Regions from separate parts of the Homo sapiens genome. Here regions 1, 2, 3, 4, 5 and 7 are each linked to region 6. The links are contacts of gene promoters, found by promoter capture Hi-C in blood cells and fetal thymus (Javierre and others, 2016). All regions are on one chromosome and are shown on one strand. Each heading gives the region's core, a stretch centred on a gene start or on the middle of the fragment in contact. The rest is flanking DNA. Distances are from core to core; before and after follow the strand shown. Region 1 holds the start of TRQ-CTG5-1 (tRNA-Gln (anticodon CTG) 5-1). Region 2 holds the start of POM121L2 (POM121 transmembrane nucleoporin like 2). Region 3 has its middle 2.0 kb from the start of TRV-AAC5-1. Region 4 has its middle 16 kb from the start of H2BC11. Region 5 holds the start of TRT-AGT6-1 (tRNA-Thr (anticodon AGT) 6-1). Region 6 holds the start of H2BC17 (H2B clustered histone 17). Region 7 has its middle 3.8 kb from the start of TRV-CAC6-1.

Region 1 (3,673 bases), core at 874-3,373, 600 kb after region 6:
CTGTTTCTGCCACAGAATTTTATCCCAATATTATGTATTTTTATGCTTAAAAACGCTATCATAACTGACAGCAACGGAAAATACTTATATAAATTGAAACCTCTAATTTTTTTTTTATGTCCATTGACCATAAATCCCCAAGAGTTTCACCGTTTTTCTTCTGGTTTGAATTACCTTTACATTCAATGGTGGCACACAATAACAAACACAAATCAACGATTTTGGTAAGTAATTTAGAATACACGAAAAGTAGAGTTGCATTGGAAATGCATCTTTTAGTGAAATGGCTGTTAATATTTTTTTCTCCATCAATTCATTGTCCGCGGATAAATACTTCTTATAGCCGGAATAAGAAAGGTTCAGTGGAATTAACAACAAAAAGATCAGTAGATTGTGGTTTTGAATAAGTCCGAGCCTTCCAAAAGGTGTTTTTATGATTATTTAAGGTGCATTATTTAAAGTGGAATCTTCAACACATTCTCATTACGTTTATCTAAATTTAATAAATAAATTTTAGCAATAAATAAAAGTGATGGCGAGCAGGAGATTTGGGAGGACGTAAAATATATAACTTTACGGATATCCATATTTGTATTTGTATTCATATTTGATAAAAGTCCAAGAATTTTCCTACGAGTCTCAATAATTGTAAAAAAAAATGAAAACACTAACTTTCCATGGCCCAATATGTACGTTCCGTTTTGTTAAAAATGGAATGTTATTAGTCGGAAGTAAATGAGGAATTTGTCAGTTCCTTCATAAAATCGTGTAAAATACGCAATTGAGACACACATCTCTGTGTCTTGTTTACAGAAGACTTTGGAGACACCAGCATTTCCAGTTGTTCTGTCACGGTAAGATATTATCTAAAAGGCGAGAATGATTTGCAGGGGAAGATGGAAGTAGGGAGCATTCACATCCCATAGGGAGCTAGTGCGCGGTAGGGGAGACACATATGGGGAAATGTTTCTTTGTAGCCTCTAGGATCTCGTGGTCTCCGGCCCAGCAACCCTGTCGCTAAGCTTCTCGGCTGCACCGGGCGCTGGCTTCTCTGACATTCCTTAGCGCAAGAGCTTTTTCCTGTTCACATTCCCTGCCTTCTCTCCTCGCTCACAGCTTTCTTCTTTCGTCCCCGCCTCTCTCCAAAACCAAACCGCCCCAGCAATTTCCGGGTGACTGAACTTCTACAATCTGTCTAAGAGGGTCCGAGCTCTGAAACCCCTTCTTCAGGAGCTTGTCCATGCCCAGACGGAAATGCCAAGAAAGCCGAGTTGCTGAGCGCCCAGCAATGAGCTCAGGGAACCCTCACTAGGAAACGCTGCGGGAGGTTGGTGGCTGGGGAGATTGGCGGGGAGAGGGCGTAGAGTAAACTCTGTTATCCTGGGAAAGGGAGTCTTTTCAGCTCATTTCCCCCTCTTCTCTGTCCAAGTAAAACTTGCTTGTGCAAACTCGAAACAGCATCTATCTCTATTGACTATTGACTATCGCCAGTTGTATCTTTCCCGTCACCTGTTCTATCTGCCCAGCCCTCACAAGTTGAGCTTCTATCCCCTTGTGGTCTTGTCTGAGGACAGTTTTCTCTCGGCTTCGGCGACTGTCACCTCTCCCAGACCCATTTAGTGGGTAAGTCCTTTCCTCAGTTTCCATCCCAGCTTTTCTCTGTTCGTGACTATCACCAAATTTCCTTTCTCTCTTCTCACTAGCCTCCTATCTATTGTCTCCTCACTTGTTTGCAGATCTTTTCTGGAGACTTTGATTTGCAGTTCCAGCAGGACTCGAGCGACTGCCTCGTGCATTTCCTTTTGAGGCTTCTCTCTTTTTTCTCCAAAGAACAAATTGTGCGCAGCAAAAAGAAAGTTATTATTTGGTTGGCAGCTAAAGATACTCCGCTCAAGAGATGTGACGTGGAAATACCAGGAATAAAATTTGGTCGAGTGATTTGTATGAGCAACAGTATAGATTGTGGAGAGACGATGGGGATTTGACTGCAGAGGACTAAATCCAAGGTTCCACCGAGATTTGAACTCGGATTACCGGATTCAGAGTCCAGAGTGCTAACCATTACACCATGGAACCTGAAGCTGAACTAGCATTTCCTAAAGTCATAGGTGACCTATTTCTCCACTTTAGGTTCCTTCCCTCCGCCCCATAGTTTGGGTGATGGGTGCATTCTGCTTTTCCTCTTGGAGGATTAAGTCAAGAAGACGCTTACCTGCCACATGCCTACATTCAACACCTTTTACACCACAGTCTTAATGGAAAACGTTGACTTCCAACTGTCAGGAGTCCTCTAATCCTAAACCACTCCTTTCAAGTGCTTTAGGAGCTTGGCGCCCCGGGCCTCGGCCTCTATTTCATCAATGGTAGACAAGTGAGATTGTTAAACAAGACTGTGTGCCAGGTGCCAGGCACACAGTATGCCAGGTTACCGTGTGCCAGTTTTTGTGACAAGTGTTTTCTATTGTTACCTTACCTGTGAGGCTCACAACCACGCTGTGAGATGGGACCCATAATCTCTATTTTACAGGTGAGAAATTTGAGTCAGATACCTGAGATGCTTTACTCCTTTTCGTTATAGATCTAATTATTTTCTCAAAAATCGTTTTTACCAGGGTAACATGTAGCGTTTTTAAGGACACGTTATGGAAAGATTTTACCGAAGTCACAGGGGAGCCACTTTGCTGTTTACAGAAAGCTGAAATAAATGCACTTGAACTACTGGGTTAGAGGAAGATCCCAGCAACCCTAGGATAGCAACTCAGGGAAAGAAGGGGAAGGGTAGACAAAGGTCCCTCTGGAGTTTCCCAGGACAGTGCATAGCTCCCCTGGTCCTTCCACTGCCCTTCACCAATGAGAAATATGTGCAGGGTAAACTTCCAAACGGACACAAAGAAAACTCCCTGCTTCTCCCTCGCATATCCCTTTGTGACACACACAGGAGCCCATGTGAAAACACAAACACAGACACACACACACACACACACACACACACAGAATCGGTTTCTGTGAACAAAACAAAACAAAAAGTCTGTGTTCCTTGTTTAAAGTGATAGCTTCCTCACAGGACAATGTCGTCTGTCAGTTAAATTCGAAAGGGTTTTCAGAGACACATATCCACAACCTTCTAAGGATTTATTCTCTTTATCTTGTGTCTCTACAATTTGAGAAAGAAGGTAGGTTTCAGGACTAATTTGGAAGGAAAATCTGAAATCAAATAAGCTTTATTTTTTTAAAAAAAATGCCAGTTATTTTTCCACTCCTTGAACTCTTCCCCGCCCCCCCCCCCTTTCATTAAGCAGGCTCCCAGTCTTGGAGGTCTCTGCTCTGAACAGCTTTCTGTCCCCAACCCTTATTCCTGGAGGAAACAGAAAGAACATTTAAAAAAAGAAGAAGAAGAAGAAGAAGATTATTACCTGGGGAGATGTAGCATTTCAGATGATTCGGAAACGAACTTAGGTTCTAGGTTCGTTAAGAAATGGGGACGGTTAATTTGAATCATCTTAGAGCATGAAAACCAAATTTCTCGAGGGGGGAAAAAGCCAAAGGCCCGTACGGGGATCGAAACCTCGACCCTGGCATTAGTAGCAGCACGCTCTAACCAACTGAGCTAACCGGCCGACCGCAAATCTGTGCTTTTGTTATTCATCTCACCCGCATCCTCGCCCCTTCTCCG
Region 2 (3,864 bases), core at 93-2,592, 580 kb after region 6:
TGTGGTGGTTGAATTGTATTGTAGGACTGTGTTTTAGCTTTGTAAGAAATTGCCATACTGTCCTCCAAAGTGGCTGTACCATTTTGCATTCTCATCAGTAATGAATGAGAGTACCTGTTACTCCACCTCCTCCTTAGCATGTGGTGTTTTGAATTTTAGCCAATTGAATGGTGTGTAGTAATATCTTACTGATGTTTAATTTGCAATTATGGTATCTTACTGATGTTTAAATTGCAATCAGAAGTATTTACTGATGTTTAGTTATATATAGCTAAATATTGACATATAGCATATGTCAATGATGTTTGGCATCTTTTTATACTGTTTACCATCTGCATATCTTCTTTGGCGGGGTTTCTGTTTAAATATTTTGCCCATTAATTTTTTACCTTATTATGAGTTTTAACATTCTATGTATATTTTGTATACCAGTGCTTCAGCAGATACATACGTATTATGCAAATATTTTCTCCAGTCTGTGGCGTGTCTTTTCATTCTCTTAACAGTGTCTTTCACAGAGCAGAAGAGAACAGGAGGTGGCCTGAGCAAGGGACTGAGCCAAGTGCTTGTGGAGGGCTCAGGTTCTGGGCCGTAAGATGCGATTTCCCATTCGCCCACTCCGGATCTCTGAGGCCACTCCTGACGGCAATCTGCATGAGTTCTCCAAGTGCGAATAGGAAGGAAACCTGGATTCGGCCGCTGGGAGACACAGGTGGATCTCAAAGGTGGCTGTGCGGCAAATGACTGACACCTACTGGCGGCGTCACGATCTGCAAAAAAAGAGAAACGCGGAAATCCTCAATCAGCTGCTTTCCCGACTGCTAGTGCCACAAATGCCATCCGGGCGGCACAGCCACCGGTCCAGATCTCCAGTCCTGAGCACCTGCGAAAGCCGCCCGCACTCACTCTACGGGGTGCGGATAGTGCTCCCCACTCAGACTCCGGGGATCCCGCGGGCCGACAGATCTGCGCCGGGGCCCTGAGCCGCCTGAGCCTGTACCTTCGAGGCCAGTAATAGTCGGAGCCTGGAAACTGTGCACCCACTCGATTCCAGCTCTGCGCCACTTGGTGAATCCGGACCACAGGGTCCCAGACAGCCGCTGCCGACGCCAGGGGCGAGGCGCAGTGAGCTTCCTCTCGAGTTCCTCTCCCCGCGCCAAGTACTGCAACTCGCTGCGGAGACAGCAGAGGTCTGACCGCCCCGCTGAGGTCTCAGAACAGCAAAGCAAGTTACTGGGACTGCCGAAGTCCCGCGTGTCCCCCGTTCCCGCGGGTGCCGGGCCTGGAGAGTGCTAAGCACCCTGAGACTCGCGCTTTCCTAGCGCGTGAATCCCAACCGTCAACCGAACACTGCGCTCTTCGACTCTGTCCGATTCTGCAGACGTCCGAAACCTCGGAAGCCAAAACCGTGCTTGAACTCACTGCCCGCGCCTCATCTCTCCTCATGGGCAGTTTCCTGAGCAAACTGGAACTTTCGCCCTCGTCCCCAGCCCAGGTGCGCACCGACTTGCCCGAGAGGCCCACGAAACGCCGGCCACCTCAGCCCCTTCACCAAGTTCATCGGGTTCAGTTCGTCCACCGCGCCCACCCTGCCCCACGGTATAGACCTGTGAGGAGGCGGCCAAACCTGGATCCTGCCAATCCAACCACGTGGCTGGCCAACGAGGCCTGGAGGCGCTTTCCCATGAAGAAGTCCCAGAATTCCCCCCTGGGGCCTCTCCCTTCAGACTGGTGGGAAAGTTACTTAAAGCGGACTATTTGGTCTCTTCGACATCCCAGGCCAATTTGGAGCCCAGTGACCATCAGGATCACTCCTCCTGACCAGAGAGTGCCCCCTTCCACTTCTCCTGAAGATGTAATTGCCCTTGCAGGACTCCCGCCCTCTGAGGAGCTCGCAGATCCATGTTCAAAGGAGACAGTGTTGAGGGCCCTCAGAGAGTGCAGAAAAGGGAAAGGGAGGTTGGAAGAACCACTATTCCCTGAGAGTCTGGACAGTAAGAGAAGGAGTCCAGAGACCAGACCATCGGCATTTAAGCCCCTGATGAAAAATGGAACCCTCACTTCTTTTGTGCCCAGGCCTGGGCCGCTGAAGAGAAGTCTCCACTCCTGGGGCTCAGATCACAGCTTGACTAAGAGGCCCAATTGCTCCTCCATGAGCTCCTTGGCCAGCATATACAGAGGTGGCACCCTCAGCTCCAAAAGGAATGCTATTGGCAGCTCTTACAGCTCTTGCAGAAATTTCTCAGACCCTTGGAAGAGAAGTGTTCCCAGTGTATCATTCGAGACACCAGAGTGGCCAATAAAAAAGGAAAAAAGTTGTCATCGGCCTTCCTCTCCAGTCCCACTGGTATCAGATTTTGAGTCCCTAGGAGGATCTGAAAGTTCTGGGCAGCAAAACCAGAAGATTCCACAGCTGCCGTCTAGCCCTGAGAACCTGGTGTCAGAGATCCCACCTCCCCAGCTTGGTTATGCAGTCTCTGATGAGAACTTGACTTTGGGGAAGAAAGCTGAGCTACAGGTAAGCAACAACGCAGGAGAAGATACAACTGAGGTCAACACAGACCCTTTCCCTGAGACTTGGCTTGCTATTCAGCCTTCCTTGTCTCTTGCTCTGCCTTCTTCAGAAACAGATCTAACCCAGGGAGCAAATCCTCAGTTGGAAAACTTAAGAAAAATGCAGAAGTCTCTAGGTCCACTGGCCTCTCCACAGTCCACGGGAGAGGCAACCAGTGTGGCCCATTCTCCTTTGAAGACACCCAGCCTACCGACCCCACCTGGGTGCTCACAGTCAGAGCTCCTTCCAGGCACCTCTCCAGACTCAAAGCCCACAGCTACTTTCATCCTGCTGACCCCCACCTCTCCCACATTACCAGTTACTGACACCACCTGGCCGCCTTCAACCTCTCAGGCTGACAGGTCTCCCATGCCCCCAGACCCACCTGCACCACCCACCATCCAAAGTACTTTGCTTGGAATGGTGAGTAGCCCAACATCCCATCTTTCTGCATCTGCACCTCCTGATGCAACTTCTGCTCACCTCATGTTAAAACCGATTTTGGGGCCCCTGCACAACAGCGAGATTGGAAGCTCCTCATATTCCAGAATTTCAGTCACAGCTGCAGCATCTTCAATCTCTTCCCTTTCCACAATTCAGGGTACCTTAACTCCTACCTTCAAGCCTATCTTTGGCAGCATAGATCCACTTAAAACTACGCCCATGATAGCTCCTTTCTCCTCCAAGCAGACCCCTCCTCCATTTACTCATGCTTCTACCCATCATTTCCATGGCCTGGTCAAGGCCACCTCTGTGGTCATGTCCACCACCCTAGCCAGCACATCTAAAGACTCTGTTTTTAAGCCACCTTTGGATTTTGGTGTAGTGAATGTCACCAGTGCCGTAGGCAACACTTATTCTGTCCCTTCCACTTGCGACACTTTCCTGCTTGGGACTGCTCAGGCCTTCAGGGCCGACTTCACCCCAGCCACAGGATTCATTTTCCCACCACACCACCATCCTACAATTCCTACTGTGCATACAGTCACCATGTTTACCCAGGTCCTTTCCAGTGTTGTACAGATATCCCCTAGAAGCAGCACTGCTAATTTCAGGGGTATGGGCAGCCCTCTGCCTGCCTCTGCCCTAGTATCCACAAACTGGCTTGCATCAACCCCCAGCATCTCCAACCTGACTCCAGCAATCACAAGTCCCTTGGGATCAAGCTCAAGGCCACCTTTCCCACTATCCCAAGGAGCTAATCCCCAGCCTGCATTTGGTGCCACAAATGGACAGAAACAAGGGCCTTCCCAGCCAGCCCTTATGCCAAGTGTCAGTAGTTCTTTTCTTTTTGGGAGCTCAGCAGTGGC
Region 3 (3,727 bases), core at 563-3,062, 660 kb after region 6:
ATTCCTTCAGAAGCACAGGGCGGGGAAATATCAGGCAGTCTCTCGGGAAATTTTATTTCAGTTCATTTTTTTTTTTTGGTATGTTCTCTGCTCTCTGCTCTCATAAGACGCTCTAATGTTCATTTCTCGATGACTGAAAATTAAGCAGGATATTGGTGACCTCGAGTATTTTTTTCTTCATGCTAGCAGCCTGTCAGTGAGATTCATTCAAAGTCCCGCTTACTCCTAAATGAGACTCTTTCTTGAGGTTTGAAACAAAAGGCAGACGCAGTGTTCATGCAAAGGCGTATAACAAGAAATAAATAGCTTGGGTGTGTAAGGGGAAGTTTAAAATCAAGACAGAACAACCGTATTCATTAGGATCAGTTACCAATGAGCAAATATCTATATATCATACATGGTAATTGGTAATAAATACATATGTATATTTACACATATGTATATATATGTATATATGCTTCTCACACTATGTATTTTTTGCTGTTTTATATACATATATATATATGAACATGAGGATAAGCTTCCTCATCCATAATTATCTCATCCTTAGCATAGTGAAAAGCATCTAGTAGGCTAGATTTTATAAATCCTAAAGAAGCGATAGAGTTCTGCTAACTATGGTAAAAATTTTCGTCAAAAGATAGCATATTTGATCATCAACAGCTATTTGATAGGAATTAAAACATAAATTCCATGAGGAAAAGGATATTTTGTCTGTCGTGTCCACTGCTTTATTCCCAGCTACTTAATAGTCTCTGGCTTAGGACTTTTAGTAGAGAATTAATTAACATTTCTTTAGTGAATGAATGAATGAGAACAAGTAACAATCAAGAGTTCAGTTTTGGATATCTAAACTTACCTTTTTTCAGTGTATTGTAATTGATGGGTCTTTCAAACTTGTGCCAATTGAGATGCATATAAAATTGTTTAGCACTTGAAATACTCTCCTTACTTTATCTTGTAGTGAGACTATCCTTGGATTTTACTGTAGCCATTTTTTTTCTAGCATTTGTACCTGTCCTCAGCTATGACATTTTGTGTTAGTGTAGTGATTATCACTGTGTGTTATATGCAGAAGGTCATGGTTTTGCTCTGCAGGAGATCCAAAATAAACCAAGGACTGATCCCTTTATCCTGCTTTTTAAATTTCATAATAGAGAGACCAATGAATTATTTTACAATTGTTATCATCTGGTTGCCTGCTCCAGCAGACTACAGGGTTCTGGGGTCTGGCTAACATTTCCTCATTTTTTTCTGGCTTCCATAAAGGGCCCTCCACAAAGCCCAAGTGCTTACAATTGCCAAACATTCAGAATACCAAATTAACAGCTGATTTCTGAGACTAGCATGGAAGCTGTGAAAAATGTGGAAAGCTGCCAGCTTCAGCCAACAAAGAGTAGGCCAGGGATTCAGATGGCCTGAGAAGGTCTTGAGTCCAGAACCCCAGGAATAGAAAATGCCCAGGATATAAAGGCATTTGCGTCTTTCTAGGGCAGCTCATGTGGATCTGGCTTTTAGCTCTATATTTTGAAAAGTTGGAGCGGTAAGGAAGGCGGAATAGTAGTAACTGAGCCAGCATTTGTCAGAACTTAGGGAAAGTGGTCAGAAAAATAGCAAGCAGCTTGCAAATGAGGTTCTGTCCTGGATGTGATATTTGTTCTTTCAGCTTAACCTCAATAGACTGAAGTGGTGAAATGAGAGACAAGAAAATTTGACGTAAAATTTTATTTTCTAGACTCTTTGGTATTTGATCCCAATAAAATGATGGTTCCCTATCACCACAAGTGGATATCACCACACACTATTTTACCAATCCTTAGGATTCCATGGTGAGAAAAAATCATAGTAAGTCACAGATAGACCTAATTATAATGATGGCAAATTAAGCACAGCTTTTGCTTTCTCTTTATTCCAAACTACACTTATACAAAGCATTAAGGGTGTTTAAAGACATAAATACACAGGGACAAAAAGATGAGAAAATGATGAGCAGTAGCAAGTAGCAAGATTTTGAATGCCAGAGAGCAGAATGATTAGTGCTAACAGAAGGGAAAATCTTATTGTGTTAAGTATCTTTTTTTTTTTTTTTTTTTTTTTTTTTTTTGAGACGGAGTCTCGCTCTGTCGCCCAGGCTGGACTGCGGACTGCAGTGGCGCAATCTCGGCTCACTGCAAGCTCCGCTTCCCGGGTTCAACGCCATTCTCCTGCCTCAGCCTCCCCAGTAGCTGGGACTACAGGCGCCCGCCACCGCGCCCGGCTAATTTTTTGTATTTTTAGTAGAGACGGGGTTTCACCTTGTTAGCCAGGCTGGTCTCGATCTCCTGACCTCATGATCCACCCGCCTCGGCCTCCCAAAGTGCTGGGATTACAGGCGTGAGCCACCGCGCCCGGCCAAGTATCTTTTTAAAAAAAAATTTCTTTTTAAGATTGGTACATGCGGCCAGGCGCTATGGCTCAGGCCTGTAATCCCAGCACTTTGGGAGGCCAAGGCAGGCAGATCACAAGGTCAGGAGCTCGAGACCAGCCTGGCCAACATGGTGAAACTCCATCTCTACTAAAAATGCAAAAAAAATTAGCCGGGCGTGGTGGCGTGTGCCTGTAATCCCAGCTACTCGGGAGACTGAGGCAGGGGAATTCCTTGAACCAGGGAGGTGGAGGTTGCAGTGAGCCAAGATCATGGCATTGCATTCCAGCCTGGGTGAAAGAGTGAGACTCCATCTCAAGAAAAAAAAAAAAAAAAAAAAAGATTGGTACATTTACATATACTCTAGTACATCTCATAGTTGCATAATATTTAATATTATGTGTTTACCACACTTCACGTATCTACTGTTCAATGTTGGCTTCAAGGCTGAATCTGATTCTGGAAGAGGAAAAATAGTGAGGCAATTAACATCCACATATGATACAATCTATATCTTTGTGACATGAGGGGGAATATACACCTAGGAGCCGAATACCTAGGTCATTGAGTGTGTCAATCTTAACTTGAGTAAAAAGTATTAGACTGCTTTCCAAAATGGCTACATTAATATAAACTTCCACCAGCAGGATATGAGGGCTTCCATATTCCCATTTCTGCAATAATGGACACATCAAGCTTTCTAATTCTTCCAATGTAATGTAGGTTGAGTAATAACTTATTTTATCTTGCATTTTATATTGATAATATTAAATATTTAAAATGTTAATCTTTTCAGGTTCTTCTTATCATGGGTTTGATGAGGACCCTGTCCCTATTCTTTATATATTTTCTTTTCTTTCTTTTTTTCTTTTTGAGACAGAGTCCTGCTCTGTCACCGAGACTGGAGTGCAGTGGCACAATCTCGGCTCACTGCAACCTCTACCTCCTGGGTTCAAGCGATTCTGCTGCCTCAGCCTCCCGAGCAGCTGAGACTACAGGCGCCTGCCACCACGCCCTGCTAATTTTTGTATTTTTAGTGGAAACGGGGTTTCACCGTATTGGCCAGGCTGGTCTCGAACTCCTGACCTGGTGATCCGACAGCTTCGGTCTCCCGAAGTGCTAGGATTACAGGCTTGAGACACCGCGCCCAGCTTCTTTACACATTTTCTATTGAGCTTGCTGTTTGATCTTGCTGATTTTAATGGCTTCTTACTATATCATGTAGATTAAGTTATTTTCATTTGTAAATATTTCAAGTATCTTCTACTTTGGTTGTATTTGTCTATTTACTGTTCCATTGTGGCTTTCTTTGATTTGGGTGCA
Region 4 (3,974 bases), core at 498-2,997, 780 kb after region 6:
TAAATAAGTGGGCAAAAGATATGAACAGACACTTCAAAGAAAACATATTGTTAGCAAATAAGCACAGGAAAATACTTTGAATATCAGTCATTTGGGAAATGCAAACTAAAATCACAATCAAATACCACTACACATCTATTAGAATGCCTAAAATTTAAAAGACTGAGGGTGAAGTATTGGAAAGGACATAGCGGAATTGGAACTCTTATAAATTTGTCCTATGCATGTAAATACTATGGAAAACATTTTGACAGGTTCTTAAAAAGTTAATCATATAACTAATGTTGTTAATCATACTACCATATGATTCAGCCATGGCACTTCTAGGTATCTACTCAAGAGAAAAGGAAATATGTGTCCATATAAAGATTTGTACAAAAATACTCATAGCAGCTTTATTTGTATTAGTTAAATCTGGAAATAATCCAAATGTTCATCAATAGATGAATGGCTAAAATATTGTGGTATATCCCTGCAAAGAAATACTATTAAGCAACAAAAGAAACAAACTGTTGATTCAAAATATGTTACTCTTCTTTTTCTTTTTGTTTGAGATGGAGTCTCACTTTGTCACCCAGGCTGGGGCACAGTGGTGCAATCATAGCTCGCTGTAGCCTTGAACTTCTGGGTTCAAACCATCCTCCTGCCTCAGCCTCCTGAGTAGCTGGGACTATAAGTGTGTGCCACCACACCCAGCTAATTTTTAGAAATTTTTTTGTGGAGACGAGGGGTTGTGGGGGGGTGGTGCAGTTTCTCACTATTGCCCAGGCTGGTCTTGAACTAGTGGTCTCAAGTGATCCTTCCACCTAGGCCTCCCAAAGCACTGGGATTACAGTGTTAGCCACTGTGCCCAGCCTAAAATATGTTAGTTTTTTGTTGCTGCAAAATACATTAGCACAAACTTCAGGGTCTCAAAACAACATACGTTTATTATCTCAGGATAATAAATGATCAGGAGTCTGGGCATGACTTAGTTAGGTCTTTTGCTTAGGGTCTCACAAGACTAATTGAAGTGTCCCACCAGGATGCATTCTCATCTAGACACTTGACTGGGGAAGAATCCATGTCCAAGCTCACTCAGGTTGTTGGCGGAATTCATTTCCTTGCAGCTTTAGGTATGAGGACACCCGCTTCTTGCTGGTTGCTGGCTGGAAGACGCCTTTAATTCTGAGAGGCTGCCCGCACTTCCTAGAGGAGCTTGAAGCTCCTGGCCATGTGGACTTTCCCCACACGACCACTTACATCATGAAACCAGCAAGGACTGCTGAGTAAATAATTATGCTGAGTAAAAGAAACTGATCAAAATACAGTACATACTGGATTCTATTTTTACAAAACTAGAAAATACAAACTAATCTACAGTGACAAAGGTTAGATCAGTGGTTCCTTTGAGTTGGGGGACAAAGTGAGATAGGAGAAAGGTATTACAAAGGGGGACAAGTACATTTTAGAGGTGATAAGTTCACTTTTTTTTTTTTTTTTTTGAGACAGAGTGTTGCTCTGTTGCCCAGGCTCGAGTGCAATGGCGTGATCTTGGCTCCCTGCCATCTCTGCCTCCCGGGTTCAAGTGATTCTCCTGCTTCAGCCTCCTGAGTAGTTGGGATTACAGGCATATGCCACCATGCCCGGCTAATTTTTGTATTTTTAGTAGAGATGGGGTTTCACCATGTTAGTCAGGCTGGTCTCGAACTCCTGACCTCAGGTGATTCGCCCGCCTCGGCCTCCTGAAGTGCTGGGATTACAGGCGTGAACCACTGTGCCCAGCAAGTTCAGTGTCTTGATTAGGGTAACGGGTTCATATGAATACTTATGTCACACTCATTAACATGTATACTTTATGTGCAGTTTATCATATGCCAATTATACTTTAGCAAAACTATTTTTAAAAGCAAAAATGTAAAAAAAAAAAAAAGTAATTCTAAAAAAAAATGATAAAATTACACCCACAGCCCATTCTGTTGTTCTTCCTACTTCTGCCTCCCAATAGTGGCAGTCAGAGGGGAAGAAGGAGGACCCCAGGTCACAAGCAGCAGAGATGAATATATCTCAGTGGTTTGTGATGGTCTTGTCTTGTCTGAATGTACTCACATCTGAAACTCCATAGATCACAAAAGAATATGAAGTCATTGGCCATAACTGGATGCAGACTCATATTCACTGTGAAAATACAACAACATGGGATACGGAATAATGAAAAGAATTAAAAAATTTAATAATGACACTAACAAGAGTAAAACAACTTTAAATAATTGATCATTGGTCTCACTGTACTAAGTTCTTTATAAATAGTCATATACTTAATCTTGAAAAGAATTTTCCAAAGTGAGGTAGGAGATCAGCAGGACTTCTTTTCCAAGCACCGGTAATGACCATGCTGATCAAAAACAGGATGCAGTAAAAAAAAAACAACAAAAAAACCTCAGCAGAGTGGTGGCTCACACCTATAATCCCAGTGCTTTGAGAGGCTGAGGTGGGAGGATCCCCTGAGCCTAGAAGTTCGATATCAGCTGGGCAACATAGTGAGAACTCCATCCCTAAAAATGTAAGTTAAAAAAAAATTAGCGAGACATGGTGGCCTACATGTGTAGTCTCAGCTGCTTGTGGGGCTGAGGTGGGAGGATTGCTTGAGCCTGGGAGATCAAGGCAGCAGTGAGCTACGATTGTGCCACTGCACTCCAGCTGGGGCGACAGAGCAAGACCCTGTCTCAAAAACAAAAAACCCTGGCTGGGTGCAGTGGCTCACACCTGTAATCACAACACTTCAGGACGCTGATGTGGGCAGATCACCTAAGGTCAGGAGTTCGAGACCAGCCTGGCCAATATGGTGAAACCCCATCTCTACTAAAAATACAAAAATTAGCTGGGCATGGTGGCATGCACCTGTAATACCAGCTACTAGGGAGGCTGAGGCATGAGAATTGCTTGAACCCGGGAGGTGGAGGTTGCAGTGAGTCAAGATCGAGCCACTGCACTCCAGCCTGGGCAATAGAGCCAGACTCAGTCTCAAACAAAACAAAACAAAACAGCTGGCTGAAACCAGCAGATGGTGACAAAGCAACCTCTAGTTGCCCTCACAGCTCATTAGAATAAAGACACTCCCATCGGCGCCATGACAGTTTACAAATGCCATGGACATGACTCAGAAGTTACCCTATAGGGTTCTGGGAGCTCCCCCCACCCCTTTTCTAGAAAATTCTGAATAACACACTACTTAATTAGCATATAATTAATAGTGGGTATAAATATAGCTAGCCTGTGTGCTTTACTGTGGCTCTTTCTTCAGTTCTGGCTCCTGCTCTGACTCCTGCTCTGGACTGCTCCTGTTGCTGAACACTGCTCCTGCCCTTCCTGTCTGTTCTACTGGTGGAGCATCCACTTTGCTGTACACTGCTATTCTGGGCTGTTCTGCCTGTGGGTTAGTTGTGCTTTCTGCAGCATCCACCTTGCTGTACACAGTTGCTGTAGGCTTCTCTGCCTATGGGTTAGCCTTGCTTTGTGGAGCACCCGCTTTGCTGTACTATGCTGCTACTCTGGGATGCTCTATGGGTGAGCCTTGCTCTGTGGAGCACCTATTATGCTGCATGCTGCTACTCTGGGCTGCTCTGCCTGTGCGTTAGCTTGTGCTGTGTGGAGCGCCCACTTTGCTGCATGCTGCTACTTGGCTGCTCTGCCTGTGGGTTAGCTTGTGCTCTGTGGAGCACCCACTTTTCTGTATACTACTACTACAGGCTGTGCTGCCTGTGGGTTAGCACACAGGTCGCCCTTTGTTTATGGAGCAGTTTGCTGTACACTATTGGTCTAGGAAGTGTTTTTAAATTAACTCTGAAGCCAAAAGCCCTCCAGGGTTAAGTCCCAATTTTGGGGTTCACCTGTGTCAGCCTGGTGACCCTGAAGGAAGGAACCATCAAAATGAAGAGACCATGAAGGGAGCATCAAGATGAGCGGGTTGACCATCAAGATAAAGTTTGGAGTTG
Region 5 (3,758 bases), core at 764-3,263, 730 kb after region 6:
TTATTAATTTTTCCCTTCATCCCAACCCTTTCATATTGTGATGCAGTTACCTGCAAGGGACTCTCCATAATTGTGCTAATCGCTCAATACGGATTTCACAACCTATAAATTCCTTAATGCATTTTCAACATATGTATTTGCAACATACTATTGAAAATATAAAATTGAACACGTAAGGCCCCGCTGGGATTCGAACCCAGGATCTCCTGTTTACTAGACAGGCGCTTTGACCAGCTAAGCCACAGGGCCCCTGTTGGGCATATGTTCAGATATATCGTATTTATAACATTTTTGTAAAATGTATCAATTTGACAAAAGTGTACTTAATTTTGTGACAAAGAAAGCACATCTGTGTTTCTGAACCAGCAACAAAGCAGCAATTCCAACACTAAAAAAAATACTTTTCTTCAATGCAAGATTTCAGAATTTATTTCAAATTGAAATGAGTGAAATTTCTATTTCATGGTGACTATCTCCCCCTACAGGAAATATTGGATATCGCAACATATTTTAAATTTATTTCTCTGTTCGTGCATTCATTCTGTCCACAAATGTTGAGTCATTACTGCATTTCAGGTACTTTTCTAGGTATTGGAGAAAGAACATTGAATAAAACAGCAAAATTTTCTTCCATTATTGAATTTATGTTCTACAGGGAGATAAAACAACAACAAAAAACACCCCAAAACAAACTAACCAACTAAAAAAATCCAACAACAAACAAAAACACAAGTGATATGGAAACCAATCTCTTTACCGCTGGGTTATAGAACCCACGACACTACCTTCTGAGCTAATTCACTGCAATTGAGTAAAACCATTATGCTTCCTTCTATTTTATCTAATCTGGCACAAGAAAGTGAGCCTAGACGAGGACACAGTGATGTCGTGGAGATCTGTGGTCACCCTGCTTCCCACTTACCCAAACTAGGCACCTTGAGACCCTCTGTTTCAAAGACAGCTTTGGTCTCAACAGGAGATCTGCTGTTAGAAACAATGAGTTAGGTGTACACAGGGAGTTCTCCTGGATGGATATCTTTGCTTCTGTCATAGTCTTGTTCTGCTCATTTGCCTGCTGGGTTAAAATAGACTCAATTTCTAGACCCACATAGATTGTAAAACTGCGTGGATGATACAGAGAAGTAGAGAACAAAGTAGAGTACAATGTGATAGCCCTCACAGGATGCTGTGGGAACCTCTCACTTGGGCCTCACAGAGTTGCATGACCTTTTATCTCAGGTTCTTTGTCAGTTTAATGAATGCAGAAGGAGTCATGGAATGTTTAGCTGAATGCAGCTTAGCATGGGGAAAAGCAGATGAAACCAATATCCTGAAATATTTAAATAACTGCCTGGTGCTTTGCATATGCATTCATTAAGCATCCACAAAATGCAAGACCCTGGAAAGATGAGAAATTACTTAGGTTGAGGTTGAGTTTTTATTTTTTAACCAAGCCTGGTGTTGCTTCTGATTTATTTCCTGTGGGTCATGAACCTCTACTCACTACCTAGCTAATCACAAAGCCAGGTTATACCAATTTTTCAGCTTTATTGGCTGAGGTTTTTTGTGAAGCTTAGTTATGTATTCCCCGACTTCTGTTTCTCACTGACAGGTGTTTCATAAATCTTGGTATGTGTAAAACCCTGGAAGAAAAGCCCTTTGTTTCTCCTTTTGGAAATCTTTCCAAGATACAAGCAGACATTTCAACATAAAGTAGGTGCTGGAGTGGTGTGGCTACAGATAGATTGCTGCACCCTTGAGAGAAATTAACACTACGAAACCCCTGCTTAAAGTGTTTCATCCGGATTTCTGCTGACATTAGAAGGAAAGTTCTTTTCCTGATTCCCTGACTTTTGGGGCTATTCTTTCTAGAACCTACCTTTTCCCACAACATCTGTGTCTTCCCTAAACTTATGGCCTATCATAGCAAACATTTTGGCCAACATCCGCCTTATAAAAAGCCTTGCTCAGATCTTCAAATAAGCCTCAATACTGAGGACAGACAAAACCCTTCTTATTATTGTTAGAACTACCTTATCAGCATCAAAGAAGCACAGGATTGTAGTCAAGTTAAATAGATGCTGAGTCTGGTACCAGTCTTTGCAATATTACTACTGCATGAAGGCCTTCCACCACTTAAGTAGCAATGATATTTATTTATTTAGCTCCAAAAATGGCTTATTTTATTATTTTGTTTGTTTGTTTGTACCTTACTGAGCTAGTGCCATCATGCATTTACCACCCTTAAATCTTTAGAACAATCTTAGAAGGTGGTAACTTTCATTAATTTCCATGGAGAGATGAGAATGATAAAACATAGAAATATTAAAAAGTCATTTCAAGACCATGAATGCCATAGGTAGAGTAAAACAGTTTTCTTTCTGAAAATGTGGTTGGCAGACTGTGTAAGATACTTCCATACCAATATTAGTGCATTCATAAAATGCAAGCTTTTAATCTCACAATTCCCCTGTTTATACCAGATTTCTAGCAATGCTCACTCAAAGCTGCAAAACATTATTGTGAACCAGAGAACTTCACACCTCTAAGATAAACATGTGCTTTGCACTGAGTATCATATGGTACACGCCAAGCAAGCTCTCTACTTTTCGAGCAAATCATACAGCATGGGTTTTATTGAGCCCTATTACTCACTTGTCACTACAATTTTATTCTGTAATAGATCTAGGACCCTAGCTCTCTCACTAAGAGATAGCCTCTGAGTCAGAGTCCATAGATTTCTGCTACTCAGGCCAGTAAGATCTGAGAAAATGTGTTCTGGAGAATTGCAAGATCAAAATGTTTATTGCTTTAGCAGTTTTATCATTCACTTGTGGCAAAATAATTGACAAGAACTGATCCTTTAGGGTCAATACATACTTGATCCCTGTCTTCACTCTTGTAAGACTGAGTCAAGATAAAATAGACTAAAAAGAAAATTGAAGTAGAATGTGATACAAGTGAACATGAATAACCACTACAAATGCTATTAAATTACTGAGAAGAGGCCTAGAACCTGACCTGTTGGAGAGATGATATCCTACAGTATAAGGCAGCTCAGCTCAATTACAATATCTCTGAGTTTCAGAATCCATGTCAGCTGGATGGACAGTTGGAGAAGAAATGGGGGCTATTTTAGCCCCAAGAAGGAAAGAACAAATCTCTTTTGCTGAAATTTTTGATAAGTTGCTAAAAGTATGAGTATTCTTTTTTTTTGAGACCGAGTCTTACTCTGTCACTCAGGCTGGAGTGCAGTGGTGTGATCTTGGCTTACTGCAACTTCCACTGCCTGGGTTCAGGCAATTCTCGTGCCTTAGCCTTCCGAATAGCTGGGACTACAGGCCTATGCCACTATGCCAAGCTAATTTTTGTATTTTTAGTAGAGACGGGGTTTCACCATGTTGGCCATGCTGGTCTCGAACTCCCGACCTCAGGTGATCTGCCCGCCTCGGCCTCCCAAAGTGCTGGGATTATAGGCATGAGCCACCACACCTGTTTGAATACTAACCTTCCACCAGGGCCAGGAGGGACGAAGTGCCATTAATGTGTTCTCAGAGTGCTGTGCTACTAACTAGAACTGGGCTCATGGAAGCGCCTCTGGGGATCTGCCTGTCTCCAGCCACCTCCTACTGGTCCTAGGTAGCACCAACTACTTCTTTCCAGCCACCTCCGTATCTCAGATCAGCTCTCCTCCACTCCCGCCTCACCCAGTCTACTTGGCTCTTTAGAACTCATTCTAGAAACTGAACGGGCTAGAA
Region 6 (3,771 bases), core at 937-3,436:
CGGGATGGGCAGGGAGAAACGAATCTCGAAAAAGAGAGCGAAGAGGAATGAAAGGAGGGGGCAAATGTGATGCCAAGTTAAAGAACATGATGAAATCAGGGGACTGCTCTCCAAGTAACTTAGCTTGTCGATAAGCTCTGTCGCCAAGCCCGAGGCACCAAACTTTAATGACAAGGTACGGGGACTGGGGAAGAGAACATTTTAGGGAAGTGAACGGCAAATCCTACAATGTATTTTGAACGACCCACTAACCAATTGGCATAATTCGGGGCTGTTTGTCACCTGTGACAGAGACGAGACTATTCGTCCGAGATAGCCTTCCACCCATAGCTGCAAAGGAAGTGACGTCAGGAAAATAAAGGAAAAGTTAAGGGGTGATTTTAAAGCCTGGAGTGGAATTGTGGAGGGGCTTGCTATTTTGCTGCTAAAGATTTACAATAGAAGTAATTTATTGAAGAGGGGATAACGCAGTGGCAGAGGATGCAATGCTATGAGAATTCAGGCACTGTTGAGAAGAGGGGATCATGCCTTGAAAAGTCTCCACTCCCTTGTACTCGCACGCTCTTGGTTTACCTCCTATTTCTGTGATCTCTTCTGGGGTCCGCTTCTCTTTAAACGCGGGGTTCTCCAACTTCTATCTCAGGATTCCTAATCATGGACTTTAAAATCCCAGCCTGAACGCTGCCCCCGCCCCAGCTAATCCTGGCACACCTCCCTCCCCAAGGCCAACTGATTAACATTGCAAAAAAGCGGCTTTCCCAAGTTGCCAGGTTCTTTGTTCAACATTTTATCCTAAAGGAGCTTCCTTAGCCTTTAATGTTTCCCGTCCCGCTTTGACACCAATAATTTCAACCCACCCTAACATATCTGCAGCGATGCCAGACGAGATGCCTATTCTCTAAAGTGTATGGAAAATGGACACCGGTAAGTCAATGTCACCCAGGATCCGTACAACTGCAGTAAGAGGGACGGTTAATTCACAGCTTCCAGCTCTTGGCGCCAGAGTCCGATGCACTCCTGCAGATAACGGTCATTTCCATTCCGGGAGAACCTCTTCGAAAAACAACCCGGATGAGACTATCTGGCAAATTGCAGCCCTTGGCGGGCTTTTCAAATAGAGCGTTGACCAATCAAAGAAGGGGGACGTTACAGGCACTGAAAGAATAACCCGGCCGCGCGCGATGGCTCACGCCTGATATCCCAACATTTTGGGAGGCCGAGATGGGTGGATCACGAAGTCAGGAGTTCGAGACTAGCCTGGTCAAGACGGTAAAACTCCGTCTCTACTAAAAATGCAATAATTAGTCGGGCACGGTGGCGGGCGCCTGTAATCCCAGCTACTTAGGAGGCCGAAGCAGAATTGGTTGAACCCGGGAGACGGAGCTTACAGTGAGCCGAGATCGCGGCACTGCACTCTATCCTGGGCGACAGAGCCAAGACTCCATTTAAAAAAAAAAAAAAAAAACAACACAAAAGGAAAGAGTAACCGAAAACCGAAAGCAAACTTGTAATTATAGCTTAAAGCACAACTGCAAGCCTTTTTCCCCAAGGGTATCTAAGAACCCAAGCTAAATTTGTCTGATGGAGCGTCTATACTCACACGCAAAAAGCCTAGGGAGCTTAGCTTACCTTTTCCCGCCGTCTTCCCTCCTAATGGAGGCCGGCCGGAGTCCACCCAAAAGACTACAAGCAAAATGCACAGGCTCTTTCTCTGGAAGCGTGAGTGGCTCTGAAAAGAGCCTTTGGATTGCTGGCAGCTGCGAGAGCTCACTTGGAGCTGGTGTACTTGGTGACGGCCTTTGTGCCCTCGGACACGGCGTGCTTGGCCAGCTCCCCGGGCAGCAGCAGGCGCACGGCCGTCTGGATCTCCCTGGAGGTGATGGTCGAGCGCTTGTTGTAATGCGCCAGGCGGGAAGCCTCGCCAGCGATGCGCTCAAAGATGTCATTGACGAAGGAGTTCATGATGCCCATGGCCTTCGATGAGATGCCGGTGTCGGGGTGGACTTGCTTCAGCACCTTGTACACGTAGATAGAGTAACTCTCTTTGCGGCTGCGCTTGCGCTTCTTGCCGTCCTTTTTCTGGGCCTTGGTTACGGCTTTCTTGGAGCCCTTTTTGGGGGCAGGAGCAGATTTAGCCGGGTCGGGCATGGCGGAGGAGAGTGAAAGAGCACTCAAATAACAAGAATGAGGACAAGCTGGGTTATGCCCTATTTATTTACAAGTCTATATGCAGATGAGATTGAGAAATTCTTCTGTCTGATTGGAAGTTACTCAGATGACGTTAATATCAATATAGTCCAATCAAAACACGTATATTCAGAAAGCTCATTTGCATTAAGAGGAAGCTGCAAGCTTAGCCAATGGCCCAGCTTCTTTTTCGCGCCCAGCAGCTGCTATAAAATGCGCGTCCCTGTAGGTTCCTTTCACTCACTTTCTGACTTAGGCCACAGGTCGTTTTACCATGTCTGGACGTGGCAAGCAGGGCGGCAAGGCTCGCGCCAAGGCCAAAACCCGCTCCTCTAGAGCTGGGCTCCAATTTCCTGTAGGACGAGTGCACCGCCTGCTCCGCAAGGGCAACTACGCTGAGCGGGTCGGGGCCGGCGCGCCGGTTTACCTGGCGGCGGTGCTGGAGTACCTAACTGCCGAGATCCTGGAGCTGGCGGGCAACGCAGCCCGCGACAACAAAAAGACCCGCATCATCCCGCGCCACTTGCAGCTGGCCATCCGCAACGACGAGGAGCTCAACAAGCTGCTTGGTAAAGTTACCATCGCTCAGGGCGGTGTTCTGCCTAACATCCAGGCCGTACTGCTCCCCAAGAAGACTGAGAGCCACCACAAAGCTAAGGGCAAGTAAGGGCTGAACTTTAAAAATGTAAACTTACAAGACAAAAGGCTCTTTTCAGAGCCACCCACCATTTCTACGGAAGAACTGAGCACTCTGTTCTCCAAACCTATCAGAAATTTGTGGCCGAGTTCAAGCACTGAGGCCATTACTTTCCTATTGGGTAAAATAAAAGTATTGAATCAGGCCTAGTAAATACTATCCAACTGCTACCTTATAACATGAAGGAACCTCCTTAATTGTCCCCTCCCCACAAACTGTCCTGGGTCTTTAAAAAACTTGGGGCCGGGCGCGGTGGTTTATGCGTCCTTAGCATTTTGGGAAACTGAGGCAGGTGGGTGGGGAGGGGAGAAATCTCTAGGGACCTGGAGTTCGAGACCACCCTGATAACGAGACCCCTGCCTCTTAAAAAAAAAATGACTGGGCGCGGTGGCTCACGCCTGTAATCCCAGCACTTTGGGAGGCCGAGGAGGGTGTATCACAAGGTCAAGAGATCGAGACCACCCAGGCAAACATGGTGAAACCCTGTCCCTACTAAAAACACAAAAATTAGCCGGGCGTGGTGGCGAGCGCTACTAAGGAGACAGGCAGGAGAATCGCTTGAACCCAGGAGGCAGAGGTTGCAGTGAGCCGAGATCACGCCACTGCACTCCAGCCTGGGCGACAGAGCGAGACTCCATCTAAAAAAAAGAAAGAAAAAAAATACCAGGCGCGAGGCCCTCGCCTGTATTTGGCGGACTGACAGCAGAAGGAACACTTGAGTCCCAGGAATTTGAGATTTCAGTGAGCCATGACCTCGCCACTGCACTCCAGCCTGGGTGACAAAGCGAGACCCCGTCTCAAAAAAAGAAAAACAAAACCCAAACAAAAGTATTTCTGGTGATCATTTGCTCCTGTGAATATAATAAATGTTAAACTAACCTTTTTGT
Region 7 (3,872 bases), core at 1,373-3,872, 690 kb after region 6:
ACAGAGTTCCTGTTTTGGGGAGCTTTCTTGCAACCACCAAGTAAATAACTAAATAAGATAATTCAGATGATGGGGTTCAGAACATGCTACCCCGAGATATGACATCTTGACATTTGACAAAACCACAGAAGCAAGTAGGTCACTCTCACTTTTCCGTAGCCCTTCTCCCCTAAAGCAGGTCAGGAGATCTTCATTCCAGAGGTGCCCTTCCTATAACTGGAGGAAAGGAACATGTTTTTCTCTGAAGACACAGGGACACACAGAAGAACCTGAACAAGTAAGCCTTGCTAAATTCCCCCAGTTTATTATCCTTACATCACACCCTCTTTGTACAATTATACTTCTGCATAACTATCTTCTCTTCGTCAACCTATCATAAAACTACAAATGTTTCCCTGTTTCTTTAGGTCTTCATTTCTAGTCTCTCATATCACACAAAGCTTATGTTAAATACACTTGTATGCTTTTCTCTTGTTTAATCTGTATTTTGTTATAGAGGCCTCAGCCATGAACTTGGTGAGAAAAGATGTTTTTCTCCCTTGCTTAGGCCATAAGGATAATGTTTAAAAAACAGATAGCTTGCAGAGGATGAAGTTTAGCCGTCTTTCTTTCTGGCAGCTGTATACTAACTTTGCAGGATGAAGGAAGAGTGGGCTTCCTTTGCTAAATGACTCTGTGGGCTTATTAAAAATGTTTTAAGGCCGGGCACGGTGGCTTACGCCTGTAATCCCAGCAATTTGGGAGGCTGAGGTCAGGATCACCTGAGGTCAGGAGTTCAAGATCAGCCTGGCTGGCCAGCATGATGAAACCTCGTCTCTACTTAAAATACAAAAATTAGCTGGATGTGGTGGTAGATGCCTGTAATCCCAGCTACTCAGGAGGCTGAGGCAAAAGAATTGCTTGAACCTGGGAGGTGGAGGTTGCAGTGAGCTGAGATTATGACACTGCACTCCAGCCTAGGCAACAGAGTGAGACTCCATCCCAAAAAATTAAAATTAAAATTAAAATGTTGTAAGTACTTTGACCTTAAAATAAAAAGCTGTAAGTGTCTATGTGTTTCCACTAGTTTTGATCCTGCTAATTTCTGGATTGTATAAATGAATAAGTATAAGAGAAAAATCCCCACAGTCTTCTGACAAATAACTGTCTTCAGAAATAGCTCACAAAAGGAGTAATCAGCCTTAAGGACCAATAAAATAAGAAAGAAAAAACTGCTTAAGATGCCATCTTTTGTTTGATAAATGTTTTGCCTAAAAATTGGAAAACTGGGCAAATGTAAAATGTAAAATACATTTGAAAATATGTCCTCAAGGCTGGGCATGGTGGCTTACACCTATAATCCCAGCATGCTTTGGAAGTCGAGGCCGGCAGATCGTTTGAGCTCAGGAGTTTAACACCAGCCTGGGCCACATGGTGAAACCCTATCTCTACAAAAAATTAGCTGAGTGTGGTGGAGCACTCCTGTAGTGCCAGCTACTTGGGAGGCTGAGGAGGAAAGAGCACTTAAACCTGGGAGATGGAGGTTGCAGTGAGCCAAGATCACTCCACTGCACTCCAGCCTGGGTGACAGAATAAGACCCTATCTGGAAAAAAAAAAAAAAAAAAAAAAGGAAGAAAAGAAAAAAAGAAAAAGTCTTCATATTTAAAGAATTAGTGAAAATAGAATGAGACATCAGACTACCTTAAATCTCTCTTTTTGAAAGGTGTTGTCAGGAAGTGAATATTTTCATGTTCTGCATGGTTTGGCTTTCTGGGCAAGGGAAATTGACACATTAGTGAATGTTCTGGTTTCCCTAGACCAATTTGCTTCTCACATTTCAAAAGTGTTATCTCATTTGAAGGATAATACAATTTCTCTCTCCTGGAACCATGGAGACATTTTAAGGCTTATAAACACGGAGATGCTTATCTTATCTTCCACTCTGGAGACATTTATTTACATCCCAAGAGTATGAATCCTGAGACTTTTCCTCTCTCTTTTTATAAGAACTTGTTTAAGGCCAGGCTAGGTGGCTCGCGCCTGTAATGCCAGCACTCTGGGAGGGCGAGGCGGGCTGATAACCTGCGGTTAGGAGTTCGAGACCAGCCTGGCCAACATGGATAAACCCCGTCTCTGCTAAATATACAAAAATTAGCTGGGCATGGTGGCAGACACCTTTAATCCCAGCTCCTCGGGAGGCTGAGCAGGAGAATCGCTTGAACCCAGGAAATGGAGGTTGCAGCAAGCCGAGATCTTTCCATTGCACTCCAGCCTGGGCAACACGAGCGAAACTCTGTCTCAAAAAAATAAAAATAGGCCAGGCGCGGTGGGTCACGCCTGTAATCCGAGCACTTTGGGAGGCCGAGGCGGCCGGATCACGAGGTCAGGAGATGGAGACCATTCTGGCTAACATGGTGAAACCCCTTCTCTAATAAAAATACAAAAAAATTAGCCGGGCTTGGTGGTGGGCGCCTGTAGTCCCAGCTACTTGGGAGGCTGAGGTAGGAGAATGGCGTGAACCCAGGAGGCGGAGCTTGCAGCGAGCCAAGATCGCGCCACTGCACTCCAGCCTGAGTGACAGAGAGAGACTCCGTCTCAAAAAAATAAATAAATAAATAAAGGCTGACAAAGACAGCACAAAAAAGAAAACTGCAGACCAATACAACTCATCAACACAGATACAACAATTTTTAACACAATATTATCAAATAGAATACAGTAATAGAGAAAAAGAATTATACACTATGACTGTTATTGGCTGAATTGTGTTCTCCCAAAATGTATATTCTGAAGTCCTAACTCCCAGTTCCTTAGAATGTGACTATATGTGGAGATAAGATCTTTAAAGAAGTTATTAAAGTAAAATGAGGGAATATGGATGAGCTCTAATACAATATTACTGGTGTCTTTATAAGAAGAGATTAGGGGCCGGGCGCAGTGGCTCATGCCTGTAATCCTAGCGCTTTGGAAGGCCGAGGCGGGCAGACTACCTGAGGTCAGTAGTTCGAGACCAGCCTGGCCAAAATGGCGAAACTCTGTCTTTACTTTAAAAAAAAAATACAAGATTCAGCCAGGCCTGACAAAATTAGCACACGCCTGTAATCCCAGCTACTCGAGAGGCTGAGACAGGAGGTAGGAGGCTGAGCGGGAAGCAGAGGTTGCAGTGAGCCGAGATTGCACCACTGCACTCCAGCCTGGGCGACAGAGCGACACTCGGTCTCCAAAAAAAAAAAGAGATTAGGACACAGGCAACACGCAGACTGAGTGGTTAATCATGGGAGGACACAACGAGAAGGCAGCCTTCTGCAAGTCAAGGAGAGCTACCTCAAAAGGAATCAAACCGGCTGACACCTTGCTCTTGGATTTCTAGGCTCAGCTGCGAGAAAATACATTTCCATTGTTTAAGTCCACCCATCTATGGTAGCCCTAGCAAACCAAGATAATCACCAAGTAGAATGCAGGGGTGGTTCATGGCCAGGCGTTGTTGCTCACACTTGTAATCCCAGCACTTTCAGAGGTCTGGGAGGCCAAGGCAGGAGTATAACTTGAGGTCAGGAGTTCTATGACCAGCCTGGCCCACGCTGGGAAACCCTGTTTCTACTAAAAATGCAAAACATTAGCCGGGCATGGTGGCATGTGCCTGTAATTCCAGCTACTCTGGAGGCTGAGGTACGAGAATCACTTCAACCTGGGAAGCTGAGGTTGCAGTGAGCAAAGATCTCGCCTTTGAACTCCAGCCTGGATGACAGAGCAAGACTCCGTCTAAAAAAAAAAAAAAAAAAGAATGCTAGGGTTGTTCAACATTTGAAAATTAGTCAACGTAATTAATGTACCATAGTCACACCAAAGGAAGAAAATCACATTATTATATTAATTGATGAGGAGAAAAATT

What was found. Contacts are between HindIII fragments. The CHiCAGO score rates a contact against its expected background, and 5 or more counts as called.
Region 1: a fragment that was not itself captured here is called in contact with the fragment with the promoter of H2BC17 in region 6 in 1 of 17 cell types (naive B cells); the score reaches 6.2 in naive B cells.
Region 2: the fragment with the promoter of POM121L2 here is called in contact with the fragment with the promoter of H2BC17 in region 6 in 1 of 17 cell types (total B cells); the score reaches 6.4 in total B cells.
Region 3: a contact is called between a fragment that was not itself captured here and the fragment with the promoter of H2BC17 in region 6, in 1 of 17 cell types (naive B cells). The highest score is 6.1, in naive B cells.
Region 4: a contact is called between a fragment that was not itself captured here and the fragment with the promoter of H2BC17 in region 6, in 12 of 17 cell types (naive CD4 T cells, naive CD8 T cells, total CD8 T cells and 9 more). The highest score is 9.7, in naive CD4 T cells.
Region 5: a contact is called between a fragment that was not itself captured here and the fragment with the promoter of H2BC17 in region 6, in 17 of 17 cell types (total CD8 T cells, non-activated CD4 T cells, M2 macrophages and 14 more). The highest score is 66.5, in total CD8 T cells.
Region 7: a contact is called between a fragment that was not itself captured here and the fragment with the promoter of H2BC17 in region 6, in 8 of 17 cell types (total CD8 T cells, total CD4 T cells, naive CD4 T cells and 5 more). The highest score is 8.9, in total CD8 T cells.

What each region holds. Positions count from the first base shown.
Region 1 is chr6:27,293,836-27,297,508 of GRCh38, reverse strand. It overlaps TRQ-CTG5-1 (tRNA-Gln (anticodon CTG) 5-1), which reads right to left and starts at 2,076; the gene lies at 2,005-2,076. It also overlaps the pseudogene TRS-ACT1-1. The HindIII fragment of the contact is 2,197 bases long and covers 1,025-3,221 here.
Region 2 is chr6:27,309,751-27,313,614 of GRCh38, reverse strand. POM121L2 (POM121 transmembrane nucleoporin like 2) reads left to right here and starts at 1,342. Exons shown (of 1, transcript NM_033482.4): 1 at 1,342-3,864. The coding sequence starts at 1,445. LOC105375107 reads right to left here and starts at 1,446. Exons shown (of 3, transcript XM_011515048.2): 1 at 1,423-1,446; 2 at 1,001-1,292; 3 at 1-770. The coding sequence starts at 1,446. The coding sequence ends at 403. RefSeq lists a silencer at 991-1,285. The HindIII fragment of the contact is 14,547 bases long and covers 1-3,864 here.
Region 3 is chr6:27,231,601-27,235,327 of GRCh38, reverse strand. No RefSeq gene overlaps it. Among named protein-coding and RNA genes, the nearest start is that of TRV-AAC5-1, 2.0 kb to the left of the region's middle. The HindIII fragment of the contact is 2,580 bases long and covers 523-3,102 here.
Region 4 is chr6:27,114,436-27,118,409 of GRCh38, reverse strand. No RefSeq gene overlaps it. Among named protein-coding and RNA genes, the nearest start is that of H2BC11, 16 kb to the left of the region's middle. RefSeq lists an enhancer at 3,100-3,199. The HindIII fragment of the contact is 4,621 bases long and covers 1-3,974 here.
Region 5 is chr6:27,158,762-27,162,519 of GRCh38, reverse strand. It overlaps TRT-AGT6-1 (tRNA-Thr (anticodon AGT) 6-1), which reads right to left and starts at 249; the gene lies at 176-249. The HindIII fragment of the contact is 878 bases long and covers 1,575-2,452 here.
Region 6 is chr6:27,891,840-27,895,610 of GRCh38, reverse strand. It overlaps H2BC17 (H2B clustered histone 17), which reads right to left and starts at 2,186. Exons shown (of 1, transcript NM_003527.4): 1 at 1,720-2,186. The coding sequence starts at 2,148. The coding sequence ends at 1,768. H2AC17 (H2A clustered histone 17) reads left to right here and starts at 2,426. Exons shown (of 1, transcript NM_003514.2): 1 at 2,426-2,912. The coding sequence starts at 2,462. The coding sequence ends at 2,854. RefSeq lists a cis regulatory region at 1-87 and enhancers at 1,423-1,562, 1,953-2,192, 2,213-2,756, 3,103-3,152, 2,757-3,300 and 1 more. The HindIII fragment of the contact is 3,889 bases long and covers 1-2,354 here.
Region 7 is chr6:27,200,425-27,204,296 of GRCh38, reverse strand. No RefSeq gene overlaps it. Among named protein-coding and RNA genes, the nearest start is that of TRV-CAC6-1, 3.8 kb to the left of the region's middle. The HindIII fragment of the contact is 4,360 bases long and covers 443-3,872 here.